Regions from separate parts of the Homo sapiens genome. Here region 2 is linked to region 1. Evidence: promoter capture Hi-C in 16 types of primary human blood cells and fetal thymus (Javierre and others, 2016). All regions are on one chromosome and are shown on one strand. The core of a region is centred on a gene start or on the middle of the fragment in contact, and the rest is flanking DNA. Distances in the headings are between cores, read along the strand shown. Region 1 holds the start of BMAL1 (basic helix-loop-helix ARNT like 1). Region 2 holds the start of RPL27A (ribosomal protein L27a).

The links. The method cuts DNA at HindIII sites, captures the fragments that hold promoters and counts their contacts. A CHiCAGO score of 5 or more calls a contact.
Region 2: the fragment with the promoter of RPL27A here is called in contact with the fragment with the promoter of BMAL1 in region 1 in 2 of 17 cell types (fetal thymus and total CD8 T cells); the score reaches 7.1 in fetal thymus.

Annotation. Positions count from the first base shown.
Region 1 is chr11:13,276,540-13,284,306 of GRCh38, reverse strand. BMAL1 (basic helix-loop-helix ARNT like 1) reads right to left here and starts at 6,517. Exons shown (of 20, transcript NM_001297719.2): 1 at 6,384-6,517. RefSeq lists silencers at 5,507-5,846, 6,127-6,196, 6,267-6,916. The HindIII fragment of the contact is 3,232 bases long and covers 5,057-7,767 here.
Region 2 is chr11:8,678,616-8,684,041 of GRCh38, reverse strand. It overlaps RPL27A (ribosomal protein L27a), which reads right to left and starts at 1,250. Exons shown (of 5, transcript NM_000990.5): 1 at 1,226-1,250; 2 at 777-840; 3 at 1-36. The coding sequence starts at 1,228. It overlaps TRIM66 (tripartite motif containing 66), which reads left to right and starts at 1,377. Exons shown (of 25, transcript NM_001388022.1): 1 at 1,377-1,441; 2 at 3,979-4,141; 3 at 4,228-4,422. RefSeq lists enhancers at 329-971, 1,298-1,487, 1,688-1,757, 621-1,820 and a silencer at 978-1,177. The HindIII fragment of the contact is 2,972 bases long and covers 857-3,828 here.

The DNA of each region.
Region 1 (7,767 bases), core at 5,268-7,767:
CTAAATGTATTTGGGGAACAACTGGCATTAAAAAAAAAAATATATATATATATATATATATATATATATATACACACACATATATATATATATACACATATATATATACACACATATATATATATACACATATATATATATACACACATATATATATATACACATATATATATATATACACACACACATATATATACACACACACACACACACACACACACACACACACCCCAACACTGTGGATATACCAAAGTTGTGGACGTTGGTCTTCAGGGAGAAAAGGACGAAGGTGAGGGACCTTTGAAAAGGTCCCCTCCCCAGTGAGGAGCTCTGCAGATGGCTAGATGAGGGTGGGAGGTGGGGTTAGTGAGTTATGTTAAAAGGTTCATCTCACACAAGGAGCTGCCTGGGGAGGAGCTGGCTGAGCCACAGGGGGCCTGGGTCAGAGCAATGCTGCAGAGAAAGCAGGGGGAGGCCAGAGAGACAGCCATGCATAACAGGATGTGAGGAGAATGTTCACAAGCCCCTGGAGCTGCTGCTCAGGTAGCATCCAGGTCCGCATCCCTTATGCGGAGGGTTTCAGGCAGCTCCGCTCTAAAAGAGGCTCATACCATGTTTGTCAACAATAAGACTGGTTCCCAATTGCTGTCAGCCTACTAGGCTCCTGGCATGGTGCGGCTGAGTGAGGTAAGGGATATAACGGGGTGTTTCCTCCCAGTAGGAATCTACTAGGGTGTTACAGGGCAGACTCTGGAGTTCACCAGCACAAATTCTGCCCCAAGCCATAACAGCTGAGTGACCTTGGGCAGTTTATAAAACCACCTCATTTGTGAAGTAAGGATAATAGTACCTGCCTCATGTAGTTGTTATGGGGTTTAAATGAGTTAATAAGCAAAGGTGACTCACATATGTGCTGGCACATAGAAAGTGTTCAATAAATGTTAGCTGCTATTATCGTAATAATTATTATTCCTATTTTGCACTCAGAGAAGCTAATTAACTTGCCCAGGTCAGACATTTCAAACAGTGATTGAAGGAATAAATACAAGCCAATGCTTCATTCAGTATATGCACAAAACCCAGTGGGTAGAGCAATAGCCAAATATTAAATTAGGCAGACCAGCCATCCCCTTCTTTAACCAGGCTAGATAAAGAATTAGTTTACACTATTTAAAAGGACAGCACATACTAAGGTAAAAACCACTCTCCATTACATGCCAGTACTCAACGTTCCCCTGCAGCAAAGATGACTAAACCTTATCCAATCTTATCTCCCCCTGAGGTTAAGTCCCCAATTCAAACCCTCCTTCCATGCAGACCTAAGTACTTACGGCCATGTCCACTTATGGCCCTGTTGCACCCCCACCTCTATGCAGTGTGCATCCTGTTCCCTCCACCTGCTCCGTCCCTGAGTGCCCACCCCATCCCATCTCCTCCTCCACAAGATCAATGTGCATTGGACAACCATGGCCTAAAGGCTCCCTGTGCCTGTCATTTTGGAAAAAGCAAGATAAACTTCTCCCAGAATGCTCAGGCTGAGCGAGCAGGTGAGATATTTTCAGAGACAGCCCAACACAATATGGAATGCAGCAGAACCTAAGAGAATTGGAGAAAAATCAATGTGGACATTGCTGCCAGGTGTGGGGAGGAAGGAAAACAAAATGAAGAAATAGTGCTGCAGGACCAAGGCCCTGGGTCCTAAAAGCAGAGGAGGATTTGGACACGTGAAAATTGAGGGATGGACTGGGCCAAGGGCTGGTACAGGGAATGGACAGCCCCTCAGCTTGACTACAGTGTCCAGGCACATGGCAAGGTCTGGCAGACAGGCAGGCTGAATGTGGAGACCACTACAAACCAGGCCAAGGCACCCCGGCAAGGCAACGAAGAGCAGCAAGACTGACAGCAACATTCACTGAGTGTTTGCAATGTGCCATGAATAGACTGGCACACTTTTTCCAATGCTTTAACTCATTTAATCCACACCTCAACTCTCTGATGTAGGGGCTACTATGATCCCAGTTTTATAGATGAGGACACCAAGGCATAGAGAGCAAAAGAAAATTGACCACAAGTCACGAAGCCAGTAGGGAATACTTAGGATGTGAAATCTGGCTCCAGAGTCTGTATGCTAAACTACCCAACCAAACTGCCTTTTAGGACAGCCTGGGGAATGAAGGGATGTAGGCTCCAGTGTGTCATGAGGACTCAATGTGACAGTGCTTGCAAGCAGTCTGCAAACCTGTAACTCCGAGACCACAAATGCAGATTACAGGCTGCCATTCATGTCCACAACGGACCTGCTAGCAGAACACAGGAGAGACAGGTCAGGGCTAGAGAGGGGACCCCAGGCCACGGACAGTGTGAATAGCAGAAGCTAGGACAGACATTTATCTTTACAGGGGTGCAGGAAGAGAATCAAGAAACCAGCATGACCCAAAGGCTGAGAGAGGAAAGGATTTCAAAGGACAAAAAACAAGTGAGGTAAAAGCTTCAAAGGGGCTGAGCACAGTGACTCACGCCTGTAATCCCAGCACTTTGGGAGGCCAGTGCAGGTGGGTCACTTGAGCCCAGGAGTTTGAGACCAGCCTGGGCAACATGGCAAAACTCCATCTCTAATAAAAATACAAAAATGAGCCAGGTGTGATGGCACGTGTCTGTAGGCTCAGCTACTCTGGAGGCTGAGGCAGGAGGATTACCTGAGACTTGGGAGGCTGCAGTGAGCCACGATTGCACCACTGCACTCCAACCAGGCAAGACTGAGACCATGTTTAAAAAAATAAAAGAAATACTGCAAAGGGGCCAAGAACAACCACTCAGGAATAAGGATGGGCAGATGGGCCCCAGGAACTCACGACAAAGTTTTGGAGAAAACTTTGAGAAGAAATATAAAGAAAGGTGGTAGCGAGAGAAGCCAGAGGGCAGGTACTAAGAATGGAGCAGGAGATGGGAGAGTGGGGGAGGCTGGCAGGAGGGAGGAAAGAGAGGCTTACGAACCCAGGGTACCAAGTAAAGACACATGTAAATTGCCTGGTACACAGCAGGCTCACCACAAGTCTGACTCTGCCTCTTCCATCCTTCCTCTCCTAAGTCAAGCCTAAGGTTTTCAGGGTGGGGCAGGGGAGACTAAGGACAAACAGCACAAATAATATTCTAGTGATAGGACCCGGGTAGAGGTGAGAAGGAATGGCAGCTGGCACAAAGGAAAGGCTTCCTGTGTGCCAGGCCTTTTACATGCACCATCTCCCTTAATCCTCACACAGACTCCACGAGGCAGGCACTGCCATTACACCAAGAGGAGAAACCTGAGGTCAGAGGAGTCAAGCACACATCCAAGACCACAAAGCCCAAACCTGAGCCATGGATTCTTCTGCCACCAGAGCCCAGGCACTTGCCCATGGTGAGAGGCCAAGAAAAGGAACAGAGGAGAGGTCCACTTGCTTTCTCTGAATTGGGAGGAGATGAGGGGACGATGGGGATAGAGACAGGACATTTTGGGTGGGAAGTAAGAGATGCTGAGGGGGTTGAGTCAGAGCAGGTCTTATTTCATGAGAGGGAGAAGAAAAGACAAGGTGGGTATTTGGGATAAATCTGAGTCTTGTGATAAGGTGACAATGAAAAAAGACTGTGGAGAAGGATAACATGCCTGTGTCCCTAGCTCCCAACGAAACCTCAAGGTCTAGAAAGGATATTTTACTTCCCTGCAAGTACCTACTTTAGTTATCATGATGCTTCCTAAAATCACTGCATGTAATCACGGGGCTGAAACTGTTTATTTAATATTGATTTTCCTACCACAGTGAGAGTTGATGATGAAATCACAAAGAAAGCTCAGATACATTATAACCCTTACACCAAAGAGAGATATTAACTATCTAGTTTTTACCTTTTCATATGCAGTTTTGTTAATACAGCCAAATCTTTCTATGGTGCTTCTCCATCTTTTAGCATATAAATTCCACAGAGATTGTTGGTGTGAAGGGATAAATCTGAAAACATGGCCACTTCCTTTTCCTGCCCTGTGGCATGCAAACCTCTTCTGCAAATAGCAGACAAACTCGTAAGTAGTCATCATTTTATAAATCATTTGAAATGGATTCTTCAAAACACCATCTGTTGATCTGCTTAACTTTCTTATGAAAATAGGGCTTCAGCTCAGATATTCTGGAGGTGCCAGGAGGTAAATACCAACCTGAATTCAAATGTATTAAATATTTAGAGACTTACAGAACTTCAAAAGAGAGGAACCTTTGAGATCACCTAGTTCAACCGTCTTACTTTCCATCAGAGGCAAACACAACCTAGAAATCTTTAATAACTTGCCCCGACTGGAACGGCCATGAGAGCCCAAGCCTAAACTAGAACCAGGATGTCCAGCTCCTAACTCCCAGGTTAGTGCTTTTCTACCAGATCTGTTCGTTCTTCAGAGGGTTGAATAAAGAACAAATTTAACTACAGTTTTAACTTATTGTTATCATTCACTGGCTGCATCTACAATCAAAACCAAAATGCTTCTACAGAACCAGCTTCAGATGATACAGGCAATTTCAAATCCTGTCCAGGAAATTTCCAAACCTTCTAAATATGTTCTATAAGCTGCGTTAAAGACTTATCAGTAAAATGATCTGAGTAACAAAACATGGACTGAAAGACTGAATTTTGTATTTTCAAAAATATTTGGGAATTCCATTGATATGGAAATCAAATATAACACCAGCGAATTTTTTTAAGTCTTGCAAGCAGAGAGAGCATGATATTATTCAAAACTGCTCAGGAGCAGCAATGATTATTTTAAGCTCATGATTCAACGGGTACATTAATTAAAAACTCCACCAACCCAAATTCACAGATCCGGATATCAATGAGACCAGAAGAATTAAAATAATAGTTGTCATTTAATAATAGATTAAAGGGGTGAACAACAGCAGATGTCAGAAGGACAAATGACAAGCAAGCAGGTGTCGTGGGAAATGAATGCATCTAAGGGGCAGCTTTTATGGATGTTTAATAAAACGACGATGCTGGAAATACGGGTATACGGGTAGTGTCAAGAAAAGCTTGTTCACAAATACGGAATCTGATTTTTGGAAGCTGGGTGAGAAAACTTGGCTAATAATTCCTCGCTGAGGAGTAGCGGTGGAAGAAGGAAGAGACCGCAAGCGCCAAAGCGCCAAAACAACGCTAGGTGACCGGGAAGGGGCCGAGGCGGAGAGGGGAGAGGGGTCAGGAGGTGCGGGGTGCGCGGCGGCAGCGGGTCTCTCACCGGCCGGCGAGAACTTGACAGCAGGCGCCGGTGTCCAGCACTCCCCTTCCCTCCCCAGCTCCTGCCGGCGGGCACCTGAGCTCACCCCGCTGCCGGCTCTCGCGACCCCTCGGGGAGGCTAACATGCGCCCCACAAGGTCGACGTTCACCTCTACCTTCCTCGTCTTCTTCCAAGCAAACGGGAAGCTCTCTGGGATGTCAACGCCCGGCAATAGCCGAGCGGGAACCTTTTCTTCCCTGACATCTGTCAAACCCGGAGCTGGAGCCAGGCTCGCTGCGCCCTCCGCGGAGCTCTGGGACTCCAAGGCCGGCCCGCACCCGGGCTCCGGGCGACATCCCCAGGCCGACGCGCACCTGCCCGCAGACCCACGGGGCATCCTTGAGGGCCGCCCAGGACCTGGACGGCACAGGCCCCACGAAAGTTCGCAGGCTGGGGTCGGCCCCGTGCCGGCCGGGGATTCCCGGGTGCAGCGCCAGCCCTGGCTACAGGGCCGAAGGGGCGGGCGGACTTGGACTCCCCAAGCCCGACGGAGACGCCCTCCCCGCCCCCACCCAGCCTCGCGGGCTCCCGAAAGGGAAGTGAAGCGGGGAGGAAGGGCAGACGCGGCACCGTTCGCCCAACGCCCTTGAGGGGCAGCCACCAGGCATGGTCCCCTCGGGGATCCCCGAAGCTCCCGGGGACACATCTAGGAGTCCTCTTCGGCCGAGTCACTGCCCCCAAGGGCAGAGCTATCCCTTTAAGAGGCAGCTAGCTGCCCCCTCCCCCCGCCAGGTAGCGATGCCCGCGGAAGGGCGGTGGGTACTCCAGCGAACACTTTCCCGGCCCCTTTAAGGGCTCCTGCAGCACCTCTGCCTGCCCTAGCCCGCAGCGGCAGCCCCCGCGAGGAGGATGGGGGCGGACGGGCGCGGCGCCTTTAAGGGGCGCAGCCTCCCCACGGCCCGGGTGGGGGCAGGGAGCGGTCACGGGCCCTTTAAGGCCGGCAGCGGGCACGTCGGGCAGGGTTCTTCGGCGGCCGGGTTGCCCCCGGGGCGGCGGCAGGGGCGCAGCGCCCGCGAGGGTGCTAACGGCCCCCGACGGGGTGCGCGGGATCGCGTCGCTGGCCGCCGCCGGCCTGACACTCACCGTGGCTCGCCGGGAGCGCCCGCGCCCGCGCCCGCACTCGGATCCCGCGGCGGCGGCGGCGGTGAGTCCGGCGCGGGTAAACAGGCACCTCCGTCCCTGACCTACTTTCTGCCTTCCCTAAATGTCGCACCACTAACCTACTTTCCGACCAATCCGCTCCCCGCCGGCCCAGGCCCGGCCCCCCGCCCACCAATCGCTGTGCCCAACCCCCCTTCCCCGCCCACCAATGGAGGAGCCGCAGCGCCCGGATACCTGCCTCTTCCCGCCAGCCAATCCGAACGCCCGAAGGGAGCCGGTCCCGGCGGCCGCCCCCAGCCAATCCGCGCGCGGCTCGGCAGCCCGCTGGCCAGTTGTGTGGCGGCTAGAGAGGCCGCTGACCAATGGCGAGGCGGCGGGAGCCGGTTTACCTGCTACTTTCCTGCCACCAATCATTTGGCGCACAGGAGCGCACGCCCCGAGGAGAGGACCAATCCGCGCGCGCTCCCTGGGTTCCTCGCCCCTGCCCTCTCCCTTTCCCCTCAGGTCTCCCACTAGCCGCGGCCACTGCGGTGCCCAAGCCGCGCTCCTCGGGGTCGCCCGGGATGTCCCTCTTCTCTGGGTCCCCTGCCGGCTGGCGTTTGGCCGCCCGCCCTCACCCCTCCTCCTTCTTCTTCTCCCCTCCGGGCATTCCGACGAAAAGCAGCAGTTCCTGACTCCCTCTCTCCCTCCGGCTCCATCTAGGAAACCAATTTTAGGAACGTTGAGTGCCAGACCCTTCCTAAAATCCCTGGTTTGCCAAAGTCTCAACGAGAGAACGGATACTTAGTATTTCTAGAAGGCATTTCCACCCCGAGGACTGCAAGTGTTCTCACGTTCTTTGCGTTCATCATGACCTCCAAGTGTCCCACTGGAGCTGTCATTCCCGTAGTTCCAAAGAGAATACTCGAGCGCGGAGCGATTCCATTGCATTTCCTTCCAGTAGCCAGGTTTTGACCACTTACTGAAGAGTAGACACCAGCCCCGCGGCAGCGCTCTCTGCTGCAAAAAGCTGTCTACGGAGCAAGACGGAAGGAAACAGTTACAGAAAATAAAAATTTGATAACGACATGCGACTCGGTTGCTGAGAGGACAGAGAAAGTGACTTATTTTTGCATCTCAGGCACTTTGTAGAGGGCCTTTAGCACAAAGAACTCCCGGCTCTTCCAGATGTTAAACTCCCTGAATAGAAGGACAGCGTCTTCTTTTTCGTTATCCATCATGTCAGCTCTCCTTTAGCGCCTGCTGGGGTAGGGTGGAGTGGTGGGGGCGGGGCTGGCACCCAACAAGTGCACCATAAATATCTGTTGGCTGGATACATGAACAAATGGAATTAAATAAATTGGCCTAATTCTGTTACCCAGACTGG
Region 2 (5,426 bases), core at 1-2,500, 4.6 Mb after region 1:
CATTACCGCGGCCGCCGGGGTGCTTCCGGTGCTTGCCTGCAGGAATACAAAGCTACGTGGGGCCGGTGTGATGGCTCATGCCTGTAATCCCAGCATTTTAGGAGGACGAGGGGGGGTAGATCACCTGAGGTCAGGAGTTCGAGACCAGCCTGGCCAACACGGAGAAACCCCCGACTCTACTAAAAATAGAAAAAGAATTAGCCGGGCGTCGTGGCGCACACCTGTAATATCAGCTACTCGGGAGGCTGAGGCAGGAGAATCGCTTGAGCCCGGCAGGCAGGGGTTGCAGTGAGCCGAGATTTCGCCACTGCACTCCAGCCTGGGCGACAGTGATCAGTCTCACACACACACAAAAAAGCTACATGCACCACACAGCCTTCTCATGCATCTCAATACTTCCTCGCACAAAAGCAGAGTGTTTCCCAGACTTCTGTGTCCCGCTTACGCTGTTCCCACCCTACCGATGCCGGTTTTCAGCAATGCGATTACTTTAGGATTCCGGGTGAAACATCTTTTCAGGTTCCACATCACAGCATTCCCACAGTACTCCATGTCTTCAACTAACCCAATACCGTGCCTGCTCAATTCCTATTACCCCACTGATGTGAAATTCCTTAGAACTGGAATACTAGAGGATCGTCAGAAAAAAATCAACAGCTGTGCAACTTGACCACAAAAAGGTCTTATTCTAACCCACTTATAGGCTACCGATCTCCAGACTAGCTAAGCACCCGAAGAGAGCCCAAGGCCCACCCCGAGGGGAAGCCGGCACTTACCTATGCGGCCGTGGCCGTGGCTCACGTGGCCCCTAAGTTTCCGGGTCTTCCTCAGTCTGGATGGCTGTGTGGAAAAAGCTTGGTGGTAAGGCCTAAGGAATTAGGGGCAGGGGGCGATGCCCGCCAGCCGAGATGGTCCTGTAAGCCTGTGGGTCAAAGACCTAACTTCTGGAGCGTTTGGGAAAGCTGAGGGTACCGATCCGCTCAGGGCCGTGAGGTCTCACCACGGTAGCGCAGGGGCCCGCGTGTCCTAGAGATCCGAACCGCGGGCCTAACACACGGCTCCGGGAGCCCCGCCCCGGGCCCGCGCCGGCCACCCTGCCCCGCAGGCGGCCATGCGCAGCCTGGAAGCCCCGACCATGGTAGGGAGTGGATGACTAGGGGCAATGGGAATACAGCTTAGGGGTCTCCGCCGGCAAGGAAGAGGAGGCAAGAAACGAAACACCTACCATGTTGGCAGCCCAGACGAAAAAGGAAGGCCTTCGCCAAGTCTCGCGAGGTATCGGCCACGGGGGCGGGGCAAAACGCCTCACTTCCGGTCACAGAGGCCGGGCTTCGGGCGGGGCCTCCTGGTCTCGCGGGATTGCGCGCCTGCTAGTCGCTTCCTCTTTCTGAGGGTGGTGATCCCCCATCACGGAGTGTCCTGGTGGCGGTGTACGGTTTCGGTGAGGCTCGTTGTGCTAGGCTCGGAGGGCGAGAACTGTTGAAGAATCGGGGCTAGGTGTGCTGTACTGCACGCCGCCCGTGCTTGCTTGAGCCAGGCCCTTTTCTGGCGCCTTGGTCAGGGAACCGCCTAAGCCGACCCTAAGGGCCTCGTTGTCTGAGCTCCTCACCAAATGCGCCAGCCCTGAGCCGCCCCGCGCACCTCCACAGTTCTTAGTGGTCTGCCCGGGGCTGGTGATAGTGGCTACTGGTTTGTCTCCCGGCCGCAGTGCGGAACCGCGAGGCCCTCTTTAATCCTCAGTGTGCCCACCTGGTGTCTCGCTCGGTTTCCTGAAGCTCGGGCGGCTCCCGAAATGCCTTCTCCCGCTCTCACACTTCTGAGTGGGCACTGCAGCTTCCTTTCTCTTTTGCCCTTTTGCTATCATTTGGTTGTCCTCTCAAGTTTGAGCAACTTAAATTGCTTCAGGGACTTAGATGCCTGGTTGCTTTATGGTCCTTTTAATGCAGATGTTGTAAATACTTTTTCTAAATGCCACATTTAGGCCAGGCGCGGTGGCTCACACCTGTAGTCCCAACACTTTGGGAGGTCGAGGCGGGAGGATTTCTTGAGGCGAGTAGTTCAACACCAGCCTGGGCAACATAGTGAGACCCTCGTCTCCACATACAAAAGTAAATAAGTAAAAATAAATGCTATTTTTGAATTTTCTCCAGAATCTACATAACACGCCTGTGACCCTTTCCTGGACACAATGCAGACAGTTGCTCGCTTCCCCACCTGTACCACCACACAATCTAGTATAACCCTTATGTAATTTATTGACCTACGTTTGTCTTCCCTACTAGACCTAATTCCTTATGTGGTCAAGGACTGTTTTTTTTAATCCACACTCAACTAGTGATTGTTGAGTGAATAAATGAACTTACCCTCACCTCCCTGTCTTCGCTAATAGCAGCATGTCTTCGCTCTTAAGTCGGTTCCTTCAACCAGTGTTCAAGATCCCATCCCCTCGCTAGTCTATTAATAGATCCCATGGGAAAAATGAAATAAATTTTTAAAATCCCATCCCCTCAGTTATTCTCTGTGTGTATGTGTGAGCGTGTATTTATTTATTTTTCTTTGTCTTGCCCCCTTCAGCTAAAATATATTTTAGCTAAAATATCCAAAATTCTGGCCGGGCGTGGTGGCTTACTTCTGTAATCCCAGCACTTTGGAAGGCCGAGGCGGGCGGATCACGAGGTCAGGAGATCGAGACCATCCTGGCTAACACGGTGAAACCCCGTCTCTACTAAAAATACAAAAAATTAGATGGGCGTGGTGGTGGGCGCCTGTAGTCCCAGCTACTCGGGAGGCTGAGGCAGGAGAATGGCGTGAACCCGGGAGGCGGAGCTTGTAGTGAACCGAGATCGCGCCACTGCACTGCAGCCTGGGCGACAGAACGAGACTCCGTCTCAAAAAAAAAAAAAAAAATTCCAAAATTCTCCCATGTCCTTGCCCTTACAGCCAAGCTCCCCAAAAGAGTAGTCTACAAATCCTGCCCATTTGCACCTTCCCATCCATTGTTCACTGCGGTCTAGCTCACAGCCTGTGACTTCAGTGAAATTGCTCTTACTAATGTCATTAATGAACGAATTGCCAAATTGGACTCTTCCTATTCTTCATATCACTTGTTCTTTCTGTTGTACTTTAATCTGTTGGCGTCTTTTTCTAGAAAAAGTCTTGCCTTCCTCCTACTCTTTGGTCACTTTTCAGTCTTCTTTTCAGGTTCTTCCATCCAGCGTTGTCCACCATTTGAATGTTGATGTTCCTCAGCCTTCTGTCCTTGTCCTTATCTTTTCACAGTACATGGTCTTCTTGGGTGGCTTCAATTCACATCCTTATTGCTGAGCTCCACACCCATATGGTCACTTAATTACTGGTTAGTATTCCTTGGACATTCTACAGACAAAGTAAACATATCCAAAGAACTCAATCTGCACTGCTCACTGGTGCCTTCTCCTTTATTCTCTGTCTTGGTGAGTGGCACCATTGTCCACCTAGATAATGAAAATTGTCCCCAAGCCTTCTCTTCTTCTACTACACTGTCACCCTATCCTTTTGTTTCTGTATCTCCCCAATGTGCTTCCTCTGTTTAAGCCTTAGTGCCCTGCCTTCATTCAGGCCCCCATCATATCTCTTAACTGGAGTTTACAACACCTTCCTTTGTTCACTCTGCCTGCATTCTAACCCTCCTCCAATTTCTGTATCCTTCACACCTCCACCACGTTAGTATTCCGAAAACATGACTTTCATTCTTTTACTTGATCAAAAAGTTCGGTAGCTCCTTATGACCAACAGAATATAGCCCACTTGCCTTTCCAGCCTTACCCCAGCCTCTCCCTTACACAAGCTTTCTACTGCAGCCGTGCCTGGTATATCCCATTTGCATTTTTGCCTTTGCTCATGCTGTTTCCCATCCCGGAGTGCCCATCCTCTTCCTGACCACATGTCCTGAATCTTCCTCAACCTTTAAGGCCAACTTTATATTCTGCTTCTTCCCAGAACACTTCAGTCCACAAGGATAACAACCAACATTTTCAGAGCACTTGGCAATTTACAAAATACATCTGCCTGAAGGTACAGCACTACCAGCCTCATTTTACGTGTGTGAAAACTGAAGCACAGAAGAATTGGGTGACTTGTCAGACGCTGCATAGGTGGTCAGGTACAGAGCCTGGGCCTAGCCTTTAGTCTTCTCTCTCCAGATCCCCTGCTTTTACCTCAGTGACCAGTCCCTCTCTGACCTTACAGCATTATGGTCTTCATCCCTCCATCAACCTTAATCACATACTGCATGTGACCAGCAGGAAGAGGGGTCTTGAGAATAGGAGGGGAGATCAAAGAAGACATCGTCGTCTATTTGACATCAAAACTGGCCAGTAAGTGCACAAGAAATGAGCTGGGTTACCTGGAACCTAACCTTGGGAAGATGATCTGTCAATGGAGGTAAGCTGGGCAGGGCCTTGGGAATGAAAGGGAACCATCAGTGGTATTAGAGCTGGGGCCTACAATAAGGACCACCACTGCAAGGGGTTGAGGTAGGGTTCTGGGTGCTAAGACACTCCTCTTGGATAGTTTGCCAGGTTCCTTGGTTATAGAGGAGCTACGTTCTGTCCCTCAGGTCACGCGGCTGAACAGAAGGCCTCCCAGAGTGGACCCAGCACTACCCGTTGGGTTCTGTGTTCACCTAACATTCTTCTCATCAATGGCTTGATCTGGTTGTAGAGGGAGTACCCTGGGTAGTTGTCTGGCTCAATCCAGTTTTCTATCCAGCTCCCTCTCCTTCAAAAGGCAACCACATGACTTAAACACACAGCTCATGTGGTGTTTGTTCAGTGTGTGTCACTTTTCCTAGGTTGACAGAGGTCTGAGAGAGCAGACAAAGCTGAGTTTTCTGTCTGCAAAGTGGAGTAGCAGCCAGATATTTGGCATTAGGGGACCTGTCCCTCCCAGCTAGGCACATGGGACATGACCTTTGGCCATGACTCCTGAGGGGTGTCCTTCTCTGTGACATCTCTTCTGAAGTACAGCATGGCTTTGTGACATCTCAGGCATCTGGGCTTCCTCAGAGTGTGAGGGCCTCAGAAAATACCTCAGAAATGAACGGAAGAGATGATACCAGACAGCAGCCTGGTGAGGCAGGCAAGTGTGCTGATTTTTTGCTGCCCCAGGCCTCTCTCCAGGTGGCCTTGGGAACACATCATCACCCTGAAGAAGGCCCTGGTGATCCCTCTTCCTTTCTCTCCTCACTGGGTTCCTGAATTCGACATCAGTCCTTCAGATAGCAGCAACATCCTGAATGAATCCAGCTCTGTTTTCTTGCTCTCCATCTTTAGATGTGGACATTTGGAAATATGTTCGTTTTCTTTTTTAAGTAGAGCACTGTTAATCAAGATGGGAAGAAGCAGTGTTTCTGCTTTTTTTCCAAGTGAGAATTAGAGAAAAGCTCA